Regions from separate parts of the Homo sapiens genome. Here all the other regions are linked to region 3. Evidence: promoter capture Hi-C in 16 types of primary human blood cells and fetal thymus (Javierre and others, 2016). All regions are on one chromosome and are shown on one strand. The core of a region is centred on a gene start or on the middle of the fragment in contact, and the rest is flanking DNA. Distances in the headings are between cores, read along the strand shown.

What was found. The method cuts DNA at HindIII sites, captures the fragments that hold promoters and counts their contacts. A CHiCAGO score of 5 or more calls a contact.
Region 1: a fragment that was not itself captured here is called in contact with the fragment with the promoter of NKD1-AS1 in region 3 in 3 of 17 cell types (neutrophils, non-activated CD4 T cells and activated CD4 T cells); the score reaches 6.2 in neutrophils.
Region 2: a fragment that was not itself captured here is called in contact with the fragment with the promoter of NKD1-AS1 in region 3 in 3 of 17 cell types (naive CD4 T cells, total CD8 T cells and non-activated CD4 T cells); the score reaches 5.8 in naive CD4 T cells.

What each region holds. Positions count from the first base shown.
Region 1 is chr16:50,796,169-50,800,092 of GRCh38, forward strand. CYLD (CYLD lysine 63 deubiquitinase) reads left to right here. Exons shown (of 19, transcript NM_001378743.1): 19 at 156-3,924. The coding sequence ends at 340. The region is part of intron 2 of CYLD-AS2 (CYLD antisense RNA 2); the gene reads right to left. Among named protein-coding and RNA genes, the nearest start is that of CYLD-AS2, 5.2 kb to the right of the region's middle. The HindIII fragment of the contact is 3,258 bases long and covers 596-3,853 here.
Region 2 is chr16:50,478,818-50,483,018 of GRCh38, forward strand. No RefSeq gene overlaps it. Among named protein-coding and RNA genes, the nearest start is that of NKD1, 67 kb to the right of the region's middle. RefSeq lists an enhancer at 77-679. The HindIII fragment of the contact is 1,822 bases long and covers 1,428-3,249 here.
Region 3 is chr16:50,611,643-50,615,526 of GRCh38, forward strand. NKD1-AS1 (NKD1 antisense RNA 1) reads right to left here and starts at 2,008. Exons shown (of 3, transcript XR_007065197.1): 1 at 1,949-2,008. All of the region lies in intron 4 of NKD1 (NKD inhibitor of Wnt signaling pathway 1), which reads left to right. The HindIII fragment of the contact is 2,641 bases long and covers 374-3,014 here.

The DNA of each region.
Region 1 (3,924 bases), core at 975-3,474, 180 kb after region 3:
GGGTTAAAGGAGGCTTTCACTTCCAGAAATCAGAAGTAAAATAAAGGCTTTTAGAGCCTGAAATTAGCTTTTTGGAAATGATAGGATTATAAAATCACTGGCAAAAGGGTTTAGAACTTGACTGCCCTATAAAGAGTTCTTCCTCTGTGCCATAGGTGGTCAGAATGGCTTCAACATTCCTCAAGTCACCCCATGCCCAGAAGTAGGAGAGTACTTGAAGATGTCTCTGGAAGACCTGCATTCCTTGGACTCCAGGAGAATCCAAGGCTGTGCACGAAGACTGCTTTGTGATGCATATATGTGCATGTACCAGAGTCCAACAATGAGTTTGTACAAATAACTGGGGTCATCGGGAAAGGCAAAGAAACTGAAGGCAGAGTCCTAACGTTGCATCTTATTCGAGCTGGCAGTTCTGTTCACGTCCATTGCCGGCAATGGATGTCTTTGTGGTGATGATCCTTCAGAAAAGGATGCCTCTGTTTAAAAACAAATTGCTTTTGTGTCCCTGAAGTATTTAATAAGAAGCATTTTGCACTCTAGAAAGTATGTTTGTGTTGGTTTTTTAAGAAGTCTAAATGAAGTTATTAATACCTGAAGCTTTAAGTTAAGTGCATTGATCATATGATATTTTTGGAAGCATACAATTTTAATTGTGGAAGTTTAAAGCCTCTTTTAGTCCATTGAGAATGTAAATAAATGTGTCTTCTTTATGGACCAAGGATATGAAATCATTTTTCTTTTGTAGCTAACGGTTGCCTTGAGGAAGAAATAATTTGGTTTTATTAAGAGTCTACTCTCAATCCAGTTATTAGAGATGTACTGAGTTTGATTTGTTAATCCTTTCTATATACTGCTGATCTTGCATGTCTACAATCTGCTCAGTTTTTCTGTGTTTCTGCAATAGTGGTCAGAAAAATACTTAAATTCCCTTAATGGTGTTGTTTTCTATTTGTTCTGGTTTTGAGATAAATGAGTGATTCTGTCCCCAAATGTCCATTTTTGAAGTGATTTTCCTGGAGGATTAGGGTATTTAGCAGTTGAAGCTCTTCATTCATAGTAGTTACTGTCAGCTAACAGGTTTTTTAAGGCTTTTAACTATTAATATTTTATGGAATGGGGCAAAGTAAATTGATGAAAGAATTGGAGTGATAATAGTCCTTTACAAACATACAGTCCATAAGAAAATGAATTTGGCATATAGAATTATTACAATTTCCTGGGAGAGATGGATATTTAAACCTCTATTATTTTAGACAAGACTGTCTAGAACTTAAGTTTGATCTGTCAGCCAGTACTCCCATTAAATTCAGTGTAGTTTCACTTGATAGAATCAGATATGTTATCGAAATGTTAGCAGCAGCTTCATCCTCCTTCTGATTAAAGTAAGTAGAAATGGGATGTTTTGTTTAATAACAGCCATAGTGTGTGTTTAGACCACAGCGGATGTTGTAGACCAGGACCATAGATGATACATGTCAGTGCTGTGGAATGTGCATTCTCTGAGTGTTGTTTTGTGGTATCATTGTCTTTCCTGAATGACTTTCTAACTGTGCAGAAAGGCAGAAAAGTCATCATATGTATATGTCATATGACTTTATAAAATATTTAATGTGACAAAAAGTGGAAAGAATCTTTACAAACCCTGCAATTACTTTTTTAAAGGCACTTTTACTCTTTGGTTTTATCATTCCATTTTGCTAATATTTACTAGCTTTATAAATTACAGTAAGGTACAAAAACTCATCTTGTAATATTTTCATTTTTGAAGTGAAAAAGTACATATATTTTGCACAAGGTTTTATACTGCTAAGTGCTTGGTTGGGGTGGTGAGATGATGATTAGATCAGGGGTGAGGCTGAGAGACTCTGGGTTTAGGGCTAGCCCTGCCTCCATCTCCCTTGGGTAAAATGAAGGGTGTGGGGTAAAAGATGCATAAGGCCTTTTCTAGCTCTGACAGCCTAGAAGTCCAATCACCCTGTAATAAATATGTGTTGAATGAAGAAATGGGTGAATGAGCTTGTCAATGTGATTTTAAAAAATTGACTACCTGGAGGAATGATTAGGAATCTAAATGAAGCCAGCCCTCGGTATCTGCAGGTTTCTCATCCATGGATTCAACCAACTGCAAATGGAAAATACGATTTTTTTTAAAAAAAGGATGGTTACATCCGTATTGAACATGTACAGACTTTTTTCTTGTCATTATTCTCTGAACAATACAAGAACTCTTTATGTAGCATTTACATTTATTAGGTATTATAAGTAATCTAGAGATTATTTAATTAAAATATACAGGAGGATGTGTGTCAGTTATATGCAAATTCTGTACCATTTTGTATCAGGGAATTGAGCATCTTCAGATGTTGGTATCTGCAGGGATCCTGGAACCAAACCCCTGCAGATACTAAGGGCTGACGATCTAGGTAAGACTGGATTTAACAGTTGGAAAAAAAAAAAAAAAAGGAGAGAGAAGACAGTTCCTTTCCTGTAGAAATTAAAACAAAATACAAATTGAGGAAGCTCTGCTACCCAGGCTGTCATGGTAGAGAACTTGAAGAAGACCTGTTTGGATGGACACCTGGTTTCAAAAGTCAGGTGTGGAGACTGTTAAATGGGAGGGCCTCATCCATAAATGATTTCTGGCAACGTCTTCTTCAGGTGGAGCTTGACGTCTTTTTAATGTTACTTGGGGAGGGAGTGCTCATTAAGGGATGCCAGGGCCAGCTCTGGTGGTTCCTGGGGAGGCTGCGTCCTTCCCTGCTTCTGCATGTCATGAGGCAGCAGGAAGGTTTCCCCTGCACCTGTCTGTCCTGGCTCCCTCTGGGTAGCCCCCTACTGTTCTGTGCTTCAGCACAGCCTGGTTTGTCAAGAGGCACATAGTTGGGGCTGGGCTGCATGGCACAGGGGCTTATGTGCCTGCTGGTTATTTAATTTTCAGCCTTAAGTTTTCTTTAATATTTTCCTGTTGGCTATTTAAAGGTTTTGGTTATCTTTTATTCCTTATCTACAATCAAGATGACAATGTAATTGAATTATCTTATTTATAACACGGTTCGTGATTCATGATTCATGATTACAAGTAGAAAATATGTCATGTTCCTCACCTCCAAATAAATATGTGTGTGTCTGTGTGTGTGTATATATGTATGTGGCGGAGAGGGAGAGAGTGGGGAAGGAGAGCAGTGTTATCATACATAGAGAGGCTAAATGTGTCCCATCCCTCACTGTCAGCTTTATAAAGGAGTTTGACTCCATCCACAGAAGAATGTTTTATAAGACTAGGAAAACACGTTGAAAACTAGGATAAACAGCAACAAAAATCAACTAAATATGTTGTTACTGTTGCTAAGGATTTTCTCCTTAGAATAATTTAGGATTTTTAAAAATTTCTGTTTGCCAAATGCTGTAGATAAATGGCCAGATTCTTCCTATCCCTAGGATTCCTTTATTATTTTTTTTCACAGATTTTGAGAACAAGGGGGAGAGATAGTATGGAAGATTAAGATTCCATTAATCTTATAGAACTGTGTTGTCACCCAAATTCCTGCTTGTTTGAACATGGCATCTTCATAGATTCAGGATTCACTACCCTCTATAGCTGGATCTTGAAAATTATCTGGCCAGATAATTTTGCATCTGCTTGGATGATTGTAGACTGAGATGTGAGTGGAGGATAAAGTATTAGACTTTTGCTGAGTAACTGCCAACCAAGAAGTATTTATCGGACACTTACTAGGTGCCTAGGATTGTATCAGAGGGAATATGAAATGTGTCCCTGCCCTACCTAGTTTTAACGACAGAATATCTATTAAAGGCTACTTAGCTGAAGGGTAAGGGTGACAGGTCTAGGGGAAGCTTTGGGAGGTGGTGTGCTGTGACAGAAAAAGTGGCAGAGTAGGGACGAGAGACCTGCATTCTAGCCCT
Region 2 (4,201 bases), core at 1,089-3,588, 130 kb before region 3:
CTGCAGAGACACCCAGGTCCTGCACCTGGGAGGGCAGCTGAAGCCGCACCTGGGGAGGCGGATCCTGCTGCTCCTGGCCCTCCTCCAAGAGCACAGGGAGGCTCGGAACCACAGCTGCAGTTTGGGCAGCTGTAGCCCCGCCCAGGAGGGTGGGGCTCCTGCCTGCTCCCAGGAGGCCTGGGTCTGCAGCTGCAGTTTGGGTGGCTGCAGCGCACCCAGGGAGCTCCCTTCCCAACTCAGAAGGGGCGGGGCTCCCACTGGCACCATGGAGTGTGCAGCCCCAGCCAGGCAGCCGTCGTGATGGCAGCAGCCACTGCCATCAGCATCTTCCCATGTTCTTATCCCTTCTTATGTAATCGTATATACACATACATATATACTTTCATATTTTTTCTTCTTTTAGAGAGCGGGTCTTGCTCTGTTGCCCAGGCTGGAGTGCAGTGGAGCAATCGTAGCTCACTGCACCCTTGAACTCCTGGGCTCTAGTGATCCTCCTGCCTCAGCCTTCTGAGTAACTGGGACTACCGGTGCACGCCACTATGCCAGGCTAATTTTTAAATTTTTGTAGAGTCGGGGTCTCATTATGTTGGCCAGGCTGGTCTCGACCTCCTAGCCTCAAGCCATCCTCTCACCTCAGCCTCCCAAAGTGCTGGAATCTCAGATGGGAGCCCCCATGCCCAGAAAGTCTTTCTGATCATTGTTTAGAATGCCCGGATGAAACATTATATACGATCTTCTGCATTGTGCTTTTCTTCTCCTACATTTGGCAACCCCGTGGTCCAGGTCTAATTCATTCTTCGTGCTGTCTGTGTAATATTCTTGAGTGTGCTGTGCCATCATTCATTTAGTCATTTCTTACTGAAGGACACTTAGCCTGCACATTAATTAACATGAACCAAGGCTATGCTGTGGCCACCAGGAAACTCTGAAATTGTAGCATCTTAACAAAACAAGGGTGTTGATTTCTTGCTCCTATTGTAATGCAGTATATTTGGGCAGCCCTTGGGTGGTCTCCTCAGAGCTTTCATCTCAGGGATCGAGCTCCTTCCATCTCCATCTTGGGGTCTCGGCAGTTGCCACAGAAGGGGAAGAGAGAGAAGGAGCATGAGGCCGTGGGCTTCATGGCCACACGTCACTTCTTCGCCCCAGTCCCTAGCCAGAACCCAGTCACATGGTTTCAGCCAAACTGCCAGGGAGGCTGGGAAATAAGGTGTTCCCTGTGTGGCCCATCTCTGCCATACTTTGTTTCAAGGTTGCTTTTCTTGTCATTATGAAAATTGATTCAATAAACACCTTTCTTTACTTGTCCTCAGGACATGGTGGTTTCATTTCTATCATATTTCCAGGGTTAGAACTGTTGGGTTAAAGGGAATATTTTAAATGCAAAATTTGTATTTTAAAAGTGAAATTTTTCATGTAACTCCTCAAGCTTTAATTGAAGTTGCCAGATTCCTTCTCAAAAAGTCTGTAACAATTTGCATTTTCAGCAACAACGCATGAGGGTAGCTTTTTCCTAAATCTCTGCCAGCCCTTGTGTTATTGTTCTTTTCAAGTTTCCTCTGTGATATCTCATTGTCAGTTTCATTTGCATTTCTCTGACCACTAATGAGTGTGAGCATCTTTTCATTTGTCCGTGGTCATTTGGCTTCATTCTTTGGTGAATTGCCTATTCATGTCCTTTGCCACAATTTCTTTTGGGTTGCTTGCCCTTTTCTTTTCAATTTGTAAGAGCTCTTTGTATATTATAGATGGTAACCTTTCGTCCACTGCATCACAAATATTTTTCCCCAAATGTATTGTTTGTCTATCACCTTTGCTTATAGTATGTTTGTCTTTCAGAAGATGAACACGTTTGTGAAGCCAAACGTGTCTTTTTTATTTATTTCTTATTTATTTCTTTTCTTTTCTTTTCTTTTCTTTTTTTTTTTTTTTTTTGAGATGGAATCTCTCTCTGTCACCAGGCTGGAGTGCAGTGGCGTGGCGTGATCTTGGCTCACTGCAGCCTCTACCTCCTGGGTTCAAGCGATTCTCCTGCCTTAGCCTCCCAAGTAGCTGGGATTACAGGCACCTGCCACCACGCCCAGCTAATTTTTGTATTTTTTAGTAGAGATGGGGTTTCACCATGTTGGCCAGGCTTGTCTCAAACTCCTGACCTTGGGTGATTCGCCCATGTTGGCCTCCCCAAGTGCTGGGATTACAGGTGTGAGCCACCATGCCTGCCCTATCTCTTTTATTTTTATATGCTGGATTTTCACCCCTGGAGGGTCTCTCCTTACTTGGGTCTTTTAAGAAGCTGCTCTCCATCATGGGCTTTGAACTGTGAGAGGCTTCACTCATAACCTCTCCTGGGTATCTGCTGTCACCCTTGCTACCTGGCCATGTGATGTCCAATGGTCCCAGACCTGATTCCTACAAAACTTTCCACGCATTTGAGAGCTGAGCTATCAAGGTCACACAGAGTGTCAGGGAGGCAAGTATACCCCGGAGGGGCCCTGAGCTTGGAGTCTGAGATCTGAGTACTAGAATTGGCTTTGAGTCACCTGTGTGAGCTTGGCTGAATCACTTGGCCTCTTTGGACCTCAATGGCCTCATCTGAAACATGGGCATAACCCTTGCTCAGCTGACTTCCCGGGGTGCTGTGAATATCAGGTGATACAACAGAGGTCCAGGTACTCTGTACAAGATTTGCAGCCCTGTAAAGATTTTGAGATGCAACAATATTGTGACAACTGACAACTTCTGAGTCTTGACAGTGAGTGACTTTACATGCATGGTCTCATTTAATCCTCAGCAATTCTAGAACATAGGTATCATTACCCTCTTCTTAGAAATAAAGAAACATGGGCTCAGAGTGGGTAAGTTAGATGTCCAAGGTTGCACAGCAAATAGGTGGCAAAGCAAAGATTCCAGAACCTGAGTCACCTCACCCGTAGTGTGTGCGTGTGTGTGTGTGTGTGTGTGTGTGTGTGTGTGTGCGCGCGTGACAGAGAGAGAGAGAGAATAGGGAGCCTGGTGAGAACTTTAGTTTTTTTTTTTTCTTTTTTGAGACAGGGTCTCCCTTTGTTGCCCAGGCTGGAGTGCAGTGGCACAATGACAGCTTATTGCTGTCTCCACTTCCTGGGCTCAAGCGATCCTCCCACGTCAGTCCCCCAAGTAGCTGGAACTACAGGCACATTCCACCACGCCTCATTAATTTTTGTATTTTTTTTGTAGAGATGGGGTTTTGCCATGTTGCCCAGGCTGGTCTCAAGCTTCTGAGCTCAAGTGATCCTCCTGCCTTGGCCTCACAAAGTGCTAGCATTACAGGCATGAGCCACTGGGCCTGGCTGAGGACTTTAGATGTTTTTTTTTTTTTTTTTTTTTTGAGAGAGAGACTATGTGGAGCTTGAAGGTTGATATGAGCAACATGGGACATTTTGCAAAACAACTTAGGTGTTTCCTGAGAGGACTGAAAGCTTTCAAGTGGATAGGGGTGACCTCCAAGCAAAACTGGGGGCACGGAAGGTACACAGAGCATCTGATATAACATTGTACCAGGCAGAAGGAGGCAGGACCAGCGGTGGGGACTGGCCCTTGCACCAAGAGAGTGGAGGATTGGCCATGACAGGTGTTAAGGGCCGTGGGTCTGGAGCTCATGGAGCCAAGGTAGCTCTGAAGAGTAGAGGCAGAGGTTCTGCCAGACTCACGCTGGGCTGTGGCTAAATTGCTGATGGGTGGACAGCCAGGGCACCTTGGGATATGGCTGCTGATTCCACAGACTTGAAGTCCCCAGTGGCAATGGCAGGCACTGTGATCATCTCCCTACAGCCTGACCCCCTTTCCTTGCTCATAAGACCCCAATCCCATGGCCACGTCTTCAGAGGAGACTGATCTTCTCCCTGTCATGGAGGTCAATTTAGACCAGAACAAGCCAACCCCACATAGTGCCATTCTCTTGAACAGAAATGGGCCTGTGATACAATTCTAGACAATGAGAAGAGAAGGCAGAAGAGGGGGACTTCTTGGCTTCTAAAATGAAGCTCAAGGATGGATGCTTCTTTTTCCAGCTTTGGCTTTTGTTGTGTGAGGACGTGATGCTTGGCACGGCTGCAGCCATCCTGTAACCATGAGGAGGACGAGCTCTCAAAGGGTAGCAGAGTAGCAGGAAGCAGAAACACAGTGGTTGGAAGTGACAGTACACTTGACCCAGTGAATTAACCAA
Region 3 (3,884 bases), core at 758-3,257:
CCTGTTCAGCTCTGCAATGGTCCCTAACTTTGCCTTCCTCATCTCTCCTCCCTTGATTCTGACTTCCTGTGAATTCGCAGCTCAGACCCCATTCCAGCCTGGCTTACCCACACTCACTGTGTGACCTTGGGTGAGTCACTTCCCTGTGGCTCAACTTCCTCACTGGGTTCCTTGTAGCACTTCTTTGCCAGGGTTATTGTGAAGACAATGAGGTGATGGATGTAGGTCGCAAGGGTGGCCCTGGTACAGAGTAAGTGCCCAGCACACTTGAGCTGCCATGATTCTTGTTTCCTGGGTTCAGTTTTCTTGAAGAGGTGTCAGCCCGTGTTTATAATCATTTACCTAGCCCAGATCAAAGAGGACCTCTTTGCAAAGCTTCTTTAATCCTGTTAGAATCTCCAAAGGCCTCCCCGTACTCCTGGTGCCTGGAGTAGGGTCTGGCATGCTGTATGTGCTCAATAAATAAACACTCACTGAAGAAGGAAAGTCAATACCCTGTAGTCACTGAAAGCAGGTGACCTCTCCCTCTGCCTCACTGAAAGCAGGTGACCCCTCCCTCCGGCCTCTCAGGCAGGACCTGTGTACCTGTGTTGGGGCCTGGGCCAGTCTGTCCAGGCTCCCAGGGGTCAGATGTTGGGCAAAGGAACTTGGGAGGCCTGTACTTCCTTTCATCTGTAGTTGGAAAACTGAAGCCCAGAGAGGGAAGTGACCTGTCCAGGGTCACACAGCAGACTGAGAACAGAATCTGGCCCCTCACTCCTCACCATTCAGTATGTGCTGGGCATTTGCTGCAGCTAGGGGCTCTGCTGGGCCCTGGGTTCACAGGCACGAGCAAGGTAGGCAGGCCCAGCAGTCACGACATTCACAGGAGGGAGGCAGGGATGAATACATAAATCTGCGAAGGAGCATGGAAGTTTCTAGTAGTGGTTCTCTGCTAAGACGTAAAACCCAGGGAGAGGTAGAGTGAGGAGGCTTTTCTGAGAAGGTGATGTTTCAGCTGAGATGCAGATGCCAGGAAGGAGCCAGCCATGGAAGAATGTAGGGGGAGAGCAGCTATGAGTGAGCAGAACCCCAGAGTGGAGGGAACTTGGTGTTTGGGGAAGAACAAAAAGGAGGCCGATGTGGCATCAGGAATGAGAGTGGGGTGGTCGGCAAGTGTGGGACCACGCCCTTAGGTTGCGTGGTTCTGCCCAGATGGTTGGGTGGGTGACTGCTGGATTCTGACCTCTGTTTTAAGAAGTTAATTCTGGCTTCTGGGAGGGACTGCCCATGGGCAGGGAGGAAGAGGGCAATGAAACCAGGAGGTGACTGCAGGGTCGCAGGCGAGAGGAGATGGTGCTGGCCTAGCCTGGGAGCTTGGGGCTGGGGAGAGGTCCATGGGGCTGGAGGTTGGAGCTGGTGAGAAGGGGGTTGAGGGAACGAGAGAGATCAGGGATGCATCTTAGACTTTTGGTTTCAGGAACTAAGGATTTGGCGGTGTCACTTCTGAGGTGGAGGTTTTGGCGGGTGACCATCAAGCCTCCCGTTTTTGGACCAGTTGGGTTCAAGATGCCCATTTAACATCCAAGGAGAGGTACCGAGGAGGCCGTGGGATACCTGGTGATTGGAGCTTGGGGTTCAAGGAGCAGTTGGGCAAGAAACAGAGAGAGAGAGCGAGTCAAGACTTCTCAGGAAGTAGCCACGGACATTGCCCGGGACTCTCGGGCAAGGCTCCTCAATACACAGGGCTGGCGGTGGCTTCCCAGGAAGGCTGGGAGGAAGAGGAGTTCATGGGAAGGCAGCAGGGACCCCCAGATGGAGGGGCAGGTGCCCATGCCCCGCCGGCTCCTCTCCCTCAGTTCAGAGCCTGTCCTGTCGGGGGGTGTCAGCGGCCCTGACTCTCCACTCCCCTACAGTCCCCCCAGAAGCTGAGTTGCAGCGGTGACAGAGAACAAGCGGACTTTGTTACCTTGGCAGTTTCTCTCAAGTCTGCTCCTCATAAAAGCTCAGCTGGAACAGTGGAAATTCTGACTTGTGTCAGATACCGGAGAGGCTTTAATAGTTTCAAGTAGCTCGGGGTTAGATTGTAAAAGCCGAATTTCATCACATGTTTTAACTTGGGTGGGGGCGGGCGGGGGAGAGTGGAAGGGACGTGATATTTTTAGCCCACAGAAGGCTTTTTCTCCCCTTTCCCCTTCTCTCCCGGGGCTTCCCCCTCCCTCCCTGAACAGATGTTTCGTCTCAATCCTGTTCAGATGTCAAAGCCGAGTGGCCACCAGCCTTATGCTCTGATGAGGAAAAAAAGGCCAGAATGTTATTTGTTGAGAAGGATTTCCTCCCCTACCCGCTTTTCCCCCTTTTTTGTTTCCCCTCAGTTACAATTGGTCCATAAGCAAAATCTAGTGGCAGTAAAATGCAGCTGGGAGGCAGGATGGTGGAGAAGAAGTCCCTGGTGGCATTTCTGGTCTCAGGAAGGGGCAGACACCCACAGGTGAAAAAGCTGGAAATCACCCTAGAGGGACTGCCCTGGGTGAGTGAATTACTGCTGTGGTGCTGGTGCTGGTGGTTTTTCCTAAAAAGCAGGATCTCAGAGAGACGGATTTGTTAAGTCAGGATTCTTTCGGTTCTTTTGGAAACTCACTTAAACTTTTGGCTCATGAAATTGAAAAATCCTAGGGTAGATCTTGCCTAAAAAGGCCTGTTTGGATTCTGGAGCTAAAACCATGTCATGGACACATGCACGCACACACACACACTCACACACACACGTATACTCACACATTCACACACATGTCTCGCTCGCTGCCCCTCTCTCTCCCTCTCCATCATCTCTCCCTCTGTCCCCTGGTGGCTTCTCCCCCACAGGGGGCAAGGGTGGCAGTTCCCAGCTCTGGGCACTCCCATCCTATGAGCACAGCCCTGTCAGGTGGAAGAAAGTTCCCAGGTCACAGGGGTTCTTGCACATGTTGGACTCACTTTATTGACCACTTTACTGGTCACTTGACCAGGGTAGATCTAGGTTTTATGGGACCTGAAGCTTTCTGGGGCCAAACCAAAATAAATATCTCACCAACTCAGTCTCTCCTTAGCTCATGTCCAGAAATGCCTGTATTTCCCCTAGTATCACCTCACACAGGCAAAGGATGTCAGAATGGTTAGATGACAATCTTAATAGATTGAGGATAAAATGCCTAATTTGGAAAATGTTACAAATACAAACACATATGACCACATAAACACCTTGCAAAGACCCATCCTGACTTGGAAAGGGCCCGTGTAGGTGAGAGGGCCCAGAAGCCTAGCTTCATTAGCTTCTTCATAAACTCTTCTTTCATACTGACCTAGGACCAGCCACGTGGCCTTCAGGATGAAACAAGCTGGGTCAGGTAGGGGTACTGAGTGCAGTGTGACCCTGGAGTGGGATCAGTCTCCATAAACTAGATAGACTGAGAGTGGGGGATGAGTAGCTCTGGGGAGGAAAGCCAGATGCTATCATCAGAAGGAGGAGAAGGATTGCTGGACAGGCAGGAACAGGTGTCAGCTATTGTGGTCTGAGAGAGTGGACAGGCCAGTGGTTGAGGAGTTGGGAAACTGGGATTTAGTTCTCTTTGTTCCACAACTTCTGGGTTCAAATCCTGGTTCTGCTACTTACCGTTGTTTCATTTTGATGATGCTGCTGATGATGCAGCACCTATAGTGTGATAGACACTGCACTATAGACATATATATCTCAGGGTATAGATATTGGGCTGATGGAAGATTCTGATGATTAAATGAGTGATATAATGATGGTGTAATAAGGCTCACTGAGCAGGGAAGCCTAACCTAGCCCTGAGGGTGTGACAGCATGCTGCTCAGAGGAAGGGAGGCTTAAACTGAAGACCTGAAGGATGAGTGGGAATTGC